Linked DNA regions of Homo sapiens: regions 1 and 3 are each linked to region 2. The links are contacts of gene promoters, found by promoter capture Hi-C in human tissues and cell types (Jung and others, 2019). All regions are on one chromosome and are shown on one strand. The core of a region is centred on a gene start or on the middle of the fragment in contact, and the rest is flanking DNA. Distances in the headings are between cores, read along the strand shown. Region 1 overlaps FNDC3A (fibronectin type III domain containing 3A). Region 2 holds the start of MLNR (motilin receptor). Region 3 overlaps FNDC3A (fibronectin type III domain containing 3A).

Evidence for each region. Contacts are between HindIII fragments. The study calls those that stand out against the background at their distance.
Region 1: a contact is called between a fragment that was not itself captured here and the fragment with the promoter of MLNR in region 2, in 3 of the 25 tissues and cell types used here (IMR-90 fibroblasts, bladder and dorsolateral prefrontal cortex).
Region 3: a contact is called between a fragment that was not itself captured here and the fragment with the promoter of MLNR in region 2, in 2 of the 25 tissues and cell types used here (heart left ventricle and lymphoblastoid cells).

The regions. Positions count from the first base shown.
Region 1 is chr13:49,126,740-49,130,819 of GRCh38, forward strand. All of the region lies in intron 4 of FNDC3A (fibronectin type III domain containing 3A), which reads left to right. Among named protein-coding and RNA genes, the nearest start is that of MLNR, 92 kb to the right of the region's middle. The HindIII fragment of the contact is 7,041 bases long and covers 1-4,080 here.
Region 2 is chr13:49,218,152-49,222,856 of GRCh38, forward strand. MLNR (motilin receptor) reads left to right here and starts at 2,187. Exons shown (of 2, transcript NM_001507.1): 1 at 2,187-3,087; 2 at 3,889-4,226. The coding sequence starts at 2,187. The coding sequence ends at 4,226. RefSeq lists silencers at 1,617-1,873, 1,810-2,069, 2,140-2,219. The HindIII fragment of the contact is 10,157 bases long and covers 9-4,705 here.
Region 3 is chr13:49,147,347-49,151,949 of GRCh38, forward strand. All of the region lies in intron 8 of FNDC3A (fibronectin type III domain containing 3A), which reads left to right. Among named protein-coding and RNA genes, the nearest start is that of MLNR, 71 kb to the right of the region's middle. The HindIII fragment of the contact is 5,171 bases long and covers 118-4,603 here.

The DNA of each region.
Region 1 (4,080 bases), core at 1,023-3,522, 91 kb before region 2:
CATCTGAAAAATTGAAATAATAATAGTATGTAGCATTGTTCCAAGGATCAAATAGTTCATATATGTTCCTTGAGAAACTTAACATTTAAATTATAGAGTAAGACATATGCATCTGGAAAATTAACATTTCAGTGTTACAAATATCCAGCAAGTGATACAGAATAAATGCAGTAGAAATTATAGGAGAGAGAGATCACTGAGATTGTGGTACCTAGGGAAGAGTTCATGGAGGAACAGTCAAACGGTATCTTCCACAGACTCCTAGCCCCACACTTCCACCAGTGTTTGCACATCTGCAGTTATGTGCTCTGCTTCTCATCCAGCCCACAAACTCTGTTTCCTCATCTGTAACACAAACTTTCCTGCTCCTGTCCAGACCCGGTTCCCCCACTGGGATACTGGAACCCATCCCATTTTGCCTGTGTAAGGACACATTACTCTAGCATTTTTCTTTTCTCTCTTCTGTGTTATCAATTTCTTGTTCTCTGCTAGATTATTTTCATTAGTATCTTGAGCCTTTTGTAATTTCACTCCTGAAAACAACAAAACATCAAAGTTTCTTGACTTCACTACTTGTATGAGCCACCACCCTATTTCTGTATTCCCCTTTGCAGCAGAACATTTTAAAATTGTGCAGTTAGCTCTAATTCTTCTCCTTACTTTCTCACTTAAACCCACTGCAGTTGGGCTTTGACCCTATGACTATACCAAAACTGCCCTCTTCAAGGTCACAGTAATGTCTACATTGCTAAATCCAGTGGTCAGATTCTTAGTCTTCCTCTTGTTTGACCTATCAGCAGCATTTGACACAGTTAATCCTTCCTCCTTGACATGCTTCACCAAACTTCAGACTCTATACACTGTCTTAGTTTTCCTTCTGCCTCGCTTGGTCATCCCTTCCCAATCTTTCCAGAATTGCAGACTAGTATATCTTAACAGTCTATTCAACATTTCCACTAAGTTGTCTTATAAACTCTTCAAACTCACAAGTGCAAAACTTGAAACTCCAAATCTCTTCCCCTGAAAAAAACTTGTTCTACTCCACAGCCTTCCTCATCACATTGATGGAAGACTATTGTTCCCTAACTTCTTTTTCTCACTTCCCACATGGAATCATCAGCTAATCTTGTCTTGTTTCTCTACTTTTTTTTTTTCTTTTTGAGATGGAGTCTTGCTCTGTTGCCCAGGCTGGAGTGCAGCAGCACAGTCTCGGCTCACTGCAACCTCTGCCTCCCGGGTTCAAACGATTCTCTTGCCTCAGCCTCCTGAGCAGCTGGGACTACAGGTGCGTGCCACCATGCCCAGCTAATTTTTGTATTTTTAGTAGAGATGTAATTTCACCATATTGGCCAGGCTGGTCTCGAACGCCTGACCTCATGATCCACCCACCTCGGCCTCCCAAAGTGCTGGGATTACAGGCGTGAGCCACTGCACCTGGCTTCTACTTTTAAATATATGCAGAATGTGGGTCACTTCTCACCATCTCCACTGCTGCTTCCCTGGTCTTAGCTGTGATCATCTCTTGCCTAGATTACTACAGTAGCTTTCTGAATGGTTTCCCTGCTTTTGTCTTTGCCTCCCTACGATCTCTTCTCAACTCAGCAGCCAGAATAGTCCTGTCAAATATAAGGTTACATCAGGAATTCTCAACCATAGTAATGTAAACATTTGAGGTGGGGTGATGTTTTTGTTGCCCTCTGTGTTGTAGGTTATTTAGCAGTATTCCGGGCCTCTCTACTTTCTAGGTGTTAATAGTGCACCTCCCCCACTGCCCCGAGTTGTGACAACTATAAATGTCTCCAGACCCTACCACATATCCTCTAGGAGTCAGAAACACTAGATTTTATCACTCTTCTGCCCAAAACTTTGTGATGATTTCCCATTCCACTGACAGTAAATGATGAACTCCAACTCCTTAATAGTAGCCTGTGTCGTGGTGCCTGACCTGACCACCCTATCACCGCTTCATTTCTTTGACTTCATCTGCTTCTGCCTTTGCTCCTTTATACTCATGCAGTCACACCAGCTTCCTTTCATCCCTTGGGTATAATCAGCCCCACTTCTACCTTAGGGGCTTTATTCTAACTGTTCCCTCTTCCTAGAACAAATCTTCCAGATTTCTACATAGTTAATTCCTCCACTTCCTTCAAGTTTCTGCTTAAGCTTTTCTTTGCCAGTAAGGCCTACTCTGATCCCTGTGTTTATTCTGTAACCTGCTCCTTTCTCACAACACTTCTAATAGCCCTTACCTGCTATGCCTTTTCCATAGTATTTATCACCTTGCAACATGCTAAGTAACTTACTTGTTGTGTTTGTCTGCCCCTGTTAGTGTGGGTTCCCCACAAATATTTAATATATCATTCTGAGGTTTTTCCCTCTTTGAATTATCAGTTTGTTTTGCTGAAAAATAGTGTTTTAAATGAGTGGAGAAGGTAAAGTTAGAGCTAGAATTGGAAGGATAGACAAGATTATTATAGATTAAAGGGAAGCAAAGTGAAGAAGAATAATTGCATAAATAAAAGTACAGGGTATAGAAATGTATAGTCACTGTGAAAACAGGTTTTTTATTATACCAGCCTGACTGCAGTTAATGGTTCAGGATTTGTTGCAAAAGAACGATACAACTTAGAAGGTAGTTTGGAACCAGGTTGAATGAATATGAAGTACAAGCCTCTTGGAAATGGCTCCGTTTTTTAAGATTTGTGAATTGGAGAGTGATAAAGGTGAAATGAGTATTGTGACAGATACTGTGATTTGGCTCACTTAAAATCCATTTCAAACTTCTTCCAGTGTTCGTTCCTGTAGGGTAGAAGCTAAAAAGCTATCAGCAGTTCCCAGATTCCCTTCAGGTAGGGTTCTAGATATTGTTTAGTTCCCATCAATCATATATGTTTGCTTGAGACTTAAATTCAGAACTGAGTTAAATAGGGAGAAAGGGGTCTGAGGCATCCATTTTGCTGAAAACAAGGCATTATGGTTCTAGACCCAGCATATTAAAAACAGTTAATTCATTTGGTCATCTAGTCCCCTGTTAGAAGAGTCATGTCACACTCCAGTAGGTAAGGATAGTTTAATAATCTAATTAATGTTTGTAATTTAGGCTTATCTATACCCAGATAAGTGTGTTTTCTAGTATACCTATACCTACCAAGCACATATATTTATAAAATAATTTGCTATCCTTAAGCATAATAAACCTTTGCCTTCCTGAAAATCAGGATTTGCCTTTAAATTAGCACTTAACATTATGATCATTTTCTGTTTCCTGAGGAAGGTATTAGCCATTTGTTATACCTTAATAATTACCATATAAGTCTAAAAGAATAAGGGCCTTATTTTAGTGAGGGATTTCTAATTTTAAGATAAAGTCCTTTAATTTTTTAGGGTTTCCTGTGTGTCTTTGCAGCTCTAGTAAGGTTCAAAGAGGAGTAAGTCTTGTCATTTAAAAAAATTTATCCCCACGGTGTAATTCCTGTTTTTTGTTTTTTGGTTTTTTTTTTTTAGTTTGTAATTTCTAAGCCTCAAAGCCACAGATATTTTTCCTAGCTAGGAGTTAATATAGTAATATTCAGTATTTGTGTCCCTTGAAATGATCAGCTGTTAAAATTGTCCTGGTCATGGTCATAAGAATTTTACATCCAAATTCTAACATGTCATTGATTATCTGATTGAGTCTGGATCCAGTTGTTTTGTTTTCTATTTGGTCTTTCCACAACTTGTTTTCCCCTACTCCTAGTCATAATATAGAAAAGGAAATTGATTCCTGAACCTCTTGTGTCTAAACCAAAATTACTCCATCAGGAAATGCACATAACACATAGGATAAATATCTAGTATCATAACTTATTAGGTTACTCTTTAGCTTGTCTAATCAGTGTTTTAAGATTTATATTGAATTGTATAACAAAAACTAATTCATTTTGTTTAGTGCTAATTTACATGTACCAATATATTTAATAAGTTGTTTTCATGTTGATTCTCCAAATTTTTAAAATTTCTAATGGTGTAAAAATTCTTACTCTTACATTTTTATTTTATTTTATTTTTGAGACAGAGTCTTGCTCTGTTGCCCAGGCTAGA
Region 2 (4,705 bases), core at 937-3,436:
GTGAAACAACGCCATGTGAGAGCAGGCAAGGAGTAGGCAGGGAATTCGGCTTCACCAGGGTTGTGGTGCTCTTGGTGGATGGACGAGGCTGACAATGGAGAAAAGAGCAAGGGAGTCGAGGGCGTCTGTGTGGGAGTGATGGCGACTGCCCGTGGAATTTACGTTGGGTAAAGGAAGAAAGTGAAGACCTGGGGCAGGCAAGGGACCGGGAAAAGGAAGGAGGAGCCAGCGATGGAGGTCGCAGTGGGTTGAAGGATTACCGGAACTGAGGTGCTAGGGGAAGAGAGCTAAAAAGAGAGCGGGCGGAGGTCAGAAAGAGGGCTGACTGAAGTGGAGGTGGAGGAAGGCTGGCAGGCAACCGTGAGGTGTAAGTTCCGTCGACAGGCGCGGCTGAGATCGGGTGGAGAGCAAGGTCATAGGTGGAAAGGAGGTCAACAAACTAGAGGCCAAGGCATTCCAAGACTCGGCATGGGTGTGAACGGCCGCAGATGCAGTGCTTCAAAGAGAGCGCAGGCACCTGTCCCTCAGGGACTACGGGTGACCACGGAGGAAAGCGCTAGGGAGGGCGGTTTTAGGACCGCTGGAAACAGCAGCGATGAGGGAGGCGACAGGTGTCCCTCCTCCAAGCTCACAGTCTGCATGTGAGAGAGAACTGCAGGAGAAGCTTGCCCTAGGCAAAGCCAGGTGTCAGGTCCAGAATCGAGACTCCAGAGAAGAGGTTGAGGATTTAAGCCACTGAGGGGGTGGAGCTGGGCAGTGAGTAGGACGTCAGGCTTGCAAGCTCTGGGATTAGGCCGACCAGAGCCCATATCCCAGTCCCGCCTCTTACTGCCTGCTTGATCTCAAGCAAGACCGCTTTGTTCATGGGCGAAAGGAGCGCCCCGGGCCATGAGGATTAAATGGAGAGCACAGGGCCAGATCCATCTAAATTCTCAGTAAGTGTTAGCTATTGTTATTAAGACCACACCGAACAGACTGAACATCCGTTTTAGCCCCTTTCCCCAATTTTCGTTCTTTCCGGTGTTGACAAATCCTCTAGTTTTTTAAGTTTATAAAACATGTTGTACATAAGAATGACATATCACATGTGAAAGTACTCTAGTGTCCACGTAAATATTTGTCTTGTTCTTTATAATAAGTAAACATGCTCACGGATCCTTGAAATTATCTGGTCACTGCCGGGCGCGGTGGCTCACGCCTGTAATCCCAGCACTTTGGGAGGTCGAGGCGGGTGGACCACCTGGGGTCAGGAGTTCGAGACCAGGCTGGCCAACATGGCGAAACCCTGACTACACAAAAAACACAAAATTTAGCCGGGGCTTGGGCGCTCCTGTGCTCCCAGCTACTCAGGAGGCTGAGGTGGGAGGACTGCTTGAGCCTGGGAGGTCGAGGCTGCAGTGAGCTGTGATCGCGCCACTTAAACTCCAGCCTGGACGACAGTGAGACCCTGTCTCAAGAAGAAAAAAAGAAAGAAAGAAAGAAAAAAAGAAAAAAAAGAAATTATTTGGTCAATTATATGGTCAGCTCCCTCCACCACTCGCGAATTTACAGAAGAGGAGAACTGGGCTGGGCGAGACCAGGACTAGCCCAAGATTACACAAGTTACTCGGTTGTAGAGCCAGGATTAGACAGGAGAGGCTCTAGATTCTGGTCTAGACTCCCCTCCTATTATTTAGCATTATGGCTTCCTGAGGATTACCATGAGCCCTCCTCCACCGTCAAGCGGCAGCTACCAGCCACCAGACCAGATCCCTTCGAAGGTGCCCGGAGTACCAGACTGACAAAAGCGCCCGTACAGTGCTCAGTCCTGTAACCAAAGCTGTCTAGGGTGCAGACATCGCTCACCGGACCGGGTAGGGCTCGTGCGCTAAGGGCGCCGGGTATTCCAGTTAGTGGAGAGGGAAGCGCCCTGGAACTGCATGGGCCCGGGAGAGGGCGCGGGAGCGGAGCAGGGCCGGGCCGGGGCGGGCCGCGGCCGTGGGCGGAGACTGCGCGCAGCTAGCTCGGGAGCGCCTCGGAGCCCACCCCGCAGAGCCGCTTCTCGCGCCCCGCAGCGCAGCGCAGCGCTCCGCCGTCTGACCTGCCGCGCCCGCAGCGTGCGGGCTGGGAAAGGAGGCGCTCACCGAGAGGGACCACGCGCCAGGCTCCCAGCCCGACCCGGGACGCGGCGGCCGCGCGGAGCACCCATGGGCAGCCCCTGGAACGGCAGCGACGGCCCCGAGGGGGCGCGGGAGCCGCCGTGGCCCGCGCTGCCGCCTTGCGACGAGCGCCGCTGCTCGCCCTTTCCCCTGGGGGCGCTGGTGCCGGTGACCGCTGTGTGCCTGTGCCTGTTCGTCGTCGGGGTGAGCGGCAACGTGGTGACCGTGATGCTGATCGGGCGCTACCGGGACATGCGGACCACCACCAACTTGTACCTGGGCAGCATGGCCGTGTCCGACCTACTCATCCTGCTCGGGCTGCCGTTCGACCTGTACCGCCTCTGGCGCTCGCGGCCCTGGGTGTTCGGGCCGCTGCTCTGCCGCCTGTCCCTCTACGTGGGCGAGGGCTGCACCTACGCCACGCTGCTGCACATGACCGCGCTCAGCGTCGAGCGCTACCTGGCCATCTGCCGCCCGCTCCGCGCCCGCGTCTTGGTCACCCGGCGCCGCGTCCGCGCGCTCATCGCTGTGCTCTGGGCCGTGGCGCTGCTCTCTGCCGGTCCCTTCTTGTTCCTGGTGGGCGTCGAGCAGGACCCCGGCATCTCCGTAGTCCCGGGCCTCAATGGCACCGCGCGGATCGCCTCCTCGCCTCTCGCCTCGTCGCCGCCTCTCTGGCTCTCGCGGGCGCCACCGCCGTCCCCGCCGTCGGGGCCCGAGACCGCGGAGGCCGCGGCGCTGTTCAGCCGCGAATGCCGGCCGAGCCCCGCGCAGCTGGGCGCGCTGCGTGTCATGCTGTGGGTCACCACCGCCTACTTCTTCCTGCCCTTTCTGTGCCTCAGCATCCTCTACGGGCTCATCGGGCGGGAGCTGTGGAGCAGCCGGCGGCCGCTGCGAGGCCCGGCCGCCTCGGGGCGGGAGAGAGGCCACCGGCAGACCGTCCGCGTCCTGCGTAAGTGGAGCCGCCGTGGTTCCAAAGACGCCTGCCTGCAGTCCGCCCCGCCGGGGACCGCGCAAACGCTGGGTCCCCTTCCCCTGCTCGCCCAGCTCTGGGCGCCGCTTCCAGCTCCCTTTCCTATTTCGATTCCAGCCTCCACCCGCCGGTACTTCCCATCCCCCGAGAAAACCATGTCCTGTCCCCCAGGAGCTCTGGGGGACCCCAGGGCGCTTTGAGGGTGGGATCCCCGGATCCGATTCAGTAACCAGCAGTGCTTTTCCAGAGCCTCTGAGACCAGAAAGGAGAGTTGGTAATTCTTAATCCAACCACCTGTTAGATGCCACAGATGAGGAGTCCTCACAGTGCTCTTGAGAAGACGAGGGAGATTTCATTAAGCTAAAATTTTTTATTTAATGTTAAGTGATGCTGAAGGCTAAAGTAAACCTTGCTCGTATCAAAAAGTAAAGATTGTGCAGACCTGTTGTAGAATTCTTTTCAACAGAGAACAGAAAACTTGTCTCCGAAGTGGGTTTGTGGAAGGAAGCCTGCCAAGGCGGCTTGTTCAGAGAAATTGCTCCTTCTGGTTTATGTCCAGCCTTGATAACACATATGGGAGCCTACTATGCAGTTTTAAAGCAAGTATCCATGCAGCCTGCAGCCTGGTCATTTTTTCTGGGGTGAGGATCTGCCTAGGTAGAAGTTTTCTCTAATTTATTTTGCTGTTACTTGTTATTGCAGATGGTTCCTTGTCGGGGTGGGGGGTTTATTTGCTTCCCAATGCTTTTGTTAATCCCGGTGCTGTGTCTTATGTTGCAGTGGTGGTGGTTCTGGCATTTATAATTTGCTGGTTGCCCTTCCACGTTGGCAGAATCATTTACATAAACACGGAAGATTCGCGGATGATGTACTTCTCTCAGTACTTTAACATCGTCGCTCTGCAACTTTTCTATCTGAGCGCATCTATCAACCCAATCCTCTACAACCTCATTTCAAAGAAGTACAGAGCGGCGGCCTTTAAACTGCTGCTCGCAAGGAAGTCCAGGCCGAGAGGCTTCCACAGAAGCAGGGACACTGCGGGGGAAGTTGCAGGGGACACTGGAGGAGACACGGTGGGCTACACCGAGACAAGCGCTAACGTGAAGACGATGGGATAACCAGCACGGCCAAGCCAGGCTCCTCTTGCAGTTCTAAGACTTTGGGGAAAACAGGTGTGTAGAGAAATAAAGACTGCAAATGAGGAACAGATCCTGTTAAGAAGAATGGAAAGAGGGTTGCAGTTGTGCCAGTTGGTTAAGAAATAGACCGCATGATTTATTTAACCAAGGTATGAAATGTAACTGCGCCAACCTTTCTAGTTTCCTTCCCACGTACCTCCTAAGGAAGGTCGATTTTACCATCATGAAATCCCACATCTCAAAGTGTGCTCTTGTGTGATGGTTTCATGAAGTCCTCATTCTCCTACTCTTCGGAAAGATGATTGTTCATTTTACAGTTAAATGATACACAAAGATGCTGCCCCAAAACTGCCACCTCTGAGATCATGAGTGTATTTTATGTTTTGGATGTAAATGTAACAGTACATCTACAAGGAACCAGGATAATGATAGTTTTGATCCAAGAAATGATTTAATAC
Region 3 (4,603 bases), core at 1,453-3,952, 70 kb before region 2:
CTGCCCAGTTCATTAAAATGTACTTTCAGCCTTGAAACATATTTATTTTTCATCATATTTACTGGCCTTGATTTGAGAAATAGAGTAGCTGGGAGGTAAGGGGTGGGGAATGGAAAGAAGTCCATAAAGTGGAGAGGAGAGAGACTTGGTGGAAGGAAATGAAATAGGGAATCGTGATTTTAAGTTTAAAAAAAAAAAAAGTAGGGAATAGGCTGGTTTGCGGCTACATACCCAAATAATATTCTGTTGTGTATATATACCACATTTTCTTTATCCCATTCATCCATTGATGGACACTTAGGTTGATCTATATTTTTGCTCTTGTCAATAGTGCTGCAGTAAATGTGGGAAAAGCACATCTCTTCAATATACTGATTTTTCCCCTATTTGGAAAAATACCCAGTAGTGGGATTGCTCATTTGTATGATATTTCTATTTTTAATTTTTTGAGAAATCTCCACACTTGTATCCATATTGGTTGTACTAATTAACATTCCACCAACAGTGTATAAGGGCTTTTTTTCTCTGCATCCTCACCAGCATCTGTTATTTTTTTGTCTTTGTAATAGTAGCCATTCTAACTAGGGTAAAATGATCTCATTGTAATTTTGATTTGGATTTCCCTGACTAATGATGTAGAGTATTTTTTCATATACCTGTTGGCCATTTGTATGTCTTTGGAGAAATGTCTATTCATGTCCTTTGTCCACTTTTAATGGGATTATTTGTGTTTTTCCTGTTGAGTTGAATTCCTTGTATATTCTGGATATTAGTCTTTTGTTAGATGAATAGTTTGCAAATACTCTCTCCCTTTCTGAGGGTTGTGTCTTCACTGTGTTGGTTGTTTCCTCTGCTGTGCAAAAGTTTTAGTTTATTTCTCTATTTTTCTTTTTTTTGTTGTTGCCTGTGCTTTGGGGGTCTTAGCATAAAATCTTTGCTTAAACCAGTGTCCTGAAGTGTTTCTTCTATATTTTCTTCCAGGATTTCATAGTTTCAGGTCTTAAACATTTAAGTCTGTAAGCCTTCTTGTGTTTATTTTTATGTAAGATGAGAGATACAGTCCAGTTTCATTCTTCTGCAGGTGGATATCCAATTTTCCTAGCAGCATTTATTGAGAAGGGTATCCTTTCCCCAGTGTATGTTCTTGGCACCATTGTTAAAAAGTCATTTGGCTATAAATTTATTTCTGGCTTCTCTATTGTGTTCCTTAGTTCTTGTGTCTATTTTTATACCAATGCCATGCTGTTTTGATTACTATAGTCTTGCAGTATATTTTGAAGTCAGGTAGAGTGATGCCTCCAGCTTTGTTCTTTTTACTTAGGATTGCGTTGGCTATTCAGGCTATTTTTTGGTTCCATAGACATTTTTGGATCACTTTTTATATTTCTGTGAAAAATGACATTGGTATTTTGATAGGGATTCCATTGAATATAAATTGCTTTGGACAGTATGTTCATTTTAATGGTATTAATTTTTTGAATACATGAGCAATGGATGTCTTTTCATTTGTTTGTGTTCTCTTCAATTTCTTTCATCAGTGTTTTATAGTTTTATCTTGTAGAGATCTTTCTACCTGTTATATTAGATTTATTCTTAGGGTGTTTTTTCTTTTGTAGCTATTGTAAATGTGATTGCCTTTTGGGCTTCTTTCTCAGCTAGTTTATTATTAGTGTATAGAAATGATGCTGATTTTTGTATTTTGATTTTATATCCTGCAACTTACTGAATTTATTTATCAGATCCAAGAGTTTTCTGGTGGAGTCTTCAGATTTTTCTACATGTAAGATCATGTCATCTACAAAGAAGGACAATTTGACTTTTTTTTTTTTTTTAATCTGAATACCTTTTATTCCTTTCTCTTGGCTGGTTGCTCTGGCTAGGACTTCCAGTACCATATTGGAGTGGTGAGAGTAGGCATCCTTGTCTTGTTCGAGTTCTTAGAGGAAAGGTTTTTAGACTTTCCCCTTTCTGTATGATGTTAGCTATGGGTCTGTCATATGTGGTCTTTATTATGTTGAGGTATGTCCCTTTAGTGCCTAGTTTGTTGAAAGATTTTATGAAGGGATGCTGAATTTTATCAAAATTTCTCTACATCTATTGAGATGATCATATAATTTTTGTCCTTCATTATGTTGATATGGTGTATCACATTATTGATTTGTGTATGTTGAGCCATCCTTGCATCCCTGGTATAAATCCCACTTGATCATGGTGTATTGTCTTTATAATGTGCTGTTGAATTCAGTTTGCCAGTGTTTTGATGAGGATTTCGTGTCCGTGTTTATCAAGGATTAGTCTGTACTTTTCTTTTTTTGTTGTGTCCGTATCTGGTTTTGGTACCAGAGTGATGCTGTCCTTGTAGAATGAGTTAGAGAGAATTCCCTCCTCTTCAATGTTTTTGGAATAGTTTGAGGAGAATTGGTGTTCCTTAAAAGTTTGGTAGAATTTGTCAGTGAAGCCATTGGTCCTGGACTTTTCTTTGTTTGAAGACTCTTTATTACTGATTCAATCTCATTACTCGTTATTGGTTGGTTCATATTTTCTATTTCTCGCTGATTGAATCTTGGTAGGTAGTATGTATCTAGGAATTTGTCCACTTCCTCAGATTTTTCAGTTTGTTGGTGTAGGTTGTCCATAATAGTCTCTGATGATTGTAACTGTGTTATCAGTTGTAGTGTCTCCTTTTCCACTTCTGATTTTATTTGGGTCCCCTTTCTTCTTCTCTTGATTAGTCTAGGTGGTGGTTTAGTTCTGTTCTGATTTTTTATTTGTTTTAGAGATGGCATCTTGCGATGTTGCCTAAGCTGGACTCAAACTCCTGGGCTCAAGTGATCCTCCCACGTCAGCCTCCCAAGTACCTGGGACTGTAGGTGTGCACCACTGCACCTGGCTGTCTGCTCTGATCTGCACCACTGCACCTGGCTGTCTGCTCTGATCTTTATTATTTCTTCCACTAATTTTGGATTTGGTTTGTTCTTGCTTTTGTAGTTCTTGAGATGTGCATTGCTAGATTGTTTATTTAGACTCTTTAAGCTTTTTAATGTAGACATTTATTGCTATAAACTTCCCTCTTGGCACTGCTTTTGCTGTATCCCATAGGTTTTAATATTTTGTGTTTCCATTTTAATTTGTTCCAAGAATTTTTTTTTTATTTCTTCCTTAATTTGTCCCTCTACCAGTGGTCATTCAGGAGCATGTTGTTTAGTTTCCAGGTAGTTGCACAGTTTCCAGAGTTCCTCTTGTTATTGATTTCTAGTTTTATTCTATTAAGTTATTAGAAAATATATGATATAATTTCAGTGTTTTAAAATTTCTTGAGGCCGGGCACGGTGGCTTACACCTCTAATCCCAGCACTTTGGGAAGCCGAGGTGGGCAGATCACGATGGCAAGAGATCAAGACCATCCTGGCCAACATGGTGAAATCCCGTCTCTACTAAAATACAAAAAATTAGCGAGGTGTGGTGGTGCACGCCTGTAGTCCCAGCTACTCGGGAGGCTGAGGCAGGGGAATCGCTTGAACCTGGGAGACAGAGGTTGCAGTGAGCCAAGATGGCACCACTGCACTCCATCCTGGCAACCCAGCAAGACTCCGTCTCAAAAAAAAAAAAAAAAAAAAATTGTTGAGACCTGTATTGTGTACTGACATATGGTCTACCCTAAAGAATGTTTCATGTTTCATGTGTTGTAAAGAAGAATGTGTTTTCTGTAGCCTTTGGATGAAATGTATTCACAAAGGTCAGTTATGTCCATTTGGTCTAATGTGCCATTTAAATACAATGAAATTTCTTTGTTAATTTTCTGTCTAGATGATCTGTCTAATGCTGAGAGTGGGGGGTTGAAGTCCCCAACTATTATTTTATTGGAGTCTGTCTCTCCCTTTAAATCTAGCAATAATTGCTTTATATTTCTGGGTGCTCCAGTGTTGGGTACATATATGTTTAGAATTGTTATATCCTCTTGCTGAATTGATCCCTTTATCATTATATAATGATTTTGTCTCTTTTTACTGTTTTTGACATAAAGTCTGTTTTATCTGAGTGTAGCTACTCCTGCTCACTTTTGGTTTCTGTTTGCATGGATTATCGTTTTCCATCCCTTTACTTTCAGTCTGTATGTATCTTTACAGGTGAGATGAGTTTCTTGTAGACAGCATATAATTGGGTCACATTTTTTAATTCATTCAGTGAGTTTGTGTCTTTTAAGTAGAAAGTTTTTTGTTTCTTTTTGTTTTTTTTATTATTATTATACTTTAAGTTATAGGGTACATGTGCATACCGTACAGGTTTGTTACATAGGTATACATGTGCCATGTTGGTGTGCTGCACCCATTAACTTGTCATTTACAATAGGTATTTCACTTAATGCCATCCCTCCCCCATCCCCCCAACCTGCCATGACAGGCCCCAGTGTGTGATGTTCCCGGCCCTGTGTCCAAGTGTTATCATTGTTCAATTTCCACCTATGAGTGAGAACATGCGGTGTTTGGTTTTCTGTCCTTGCGATAGTTTGCTCAGAATGATGGTTTCCAGCCTCATCCATGTGCCTACAAAGGATATGAACTCATCCTTTTTTATGGCTGCATAGTATTCCATGGTGAATATG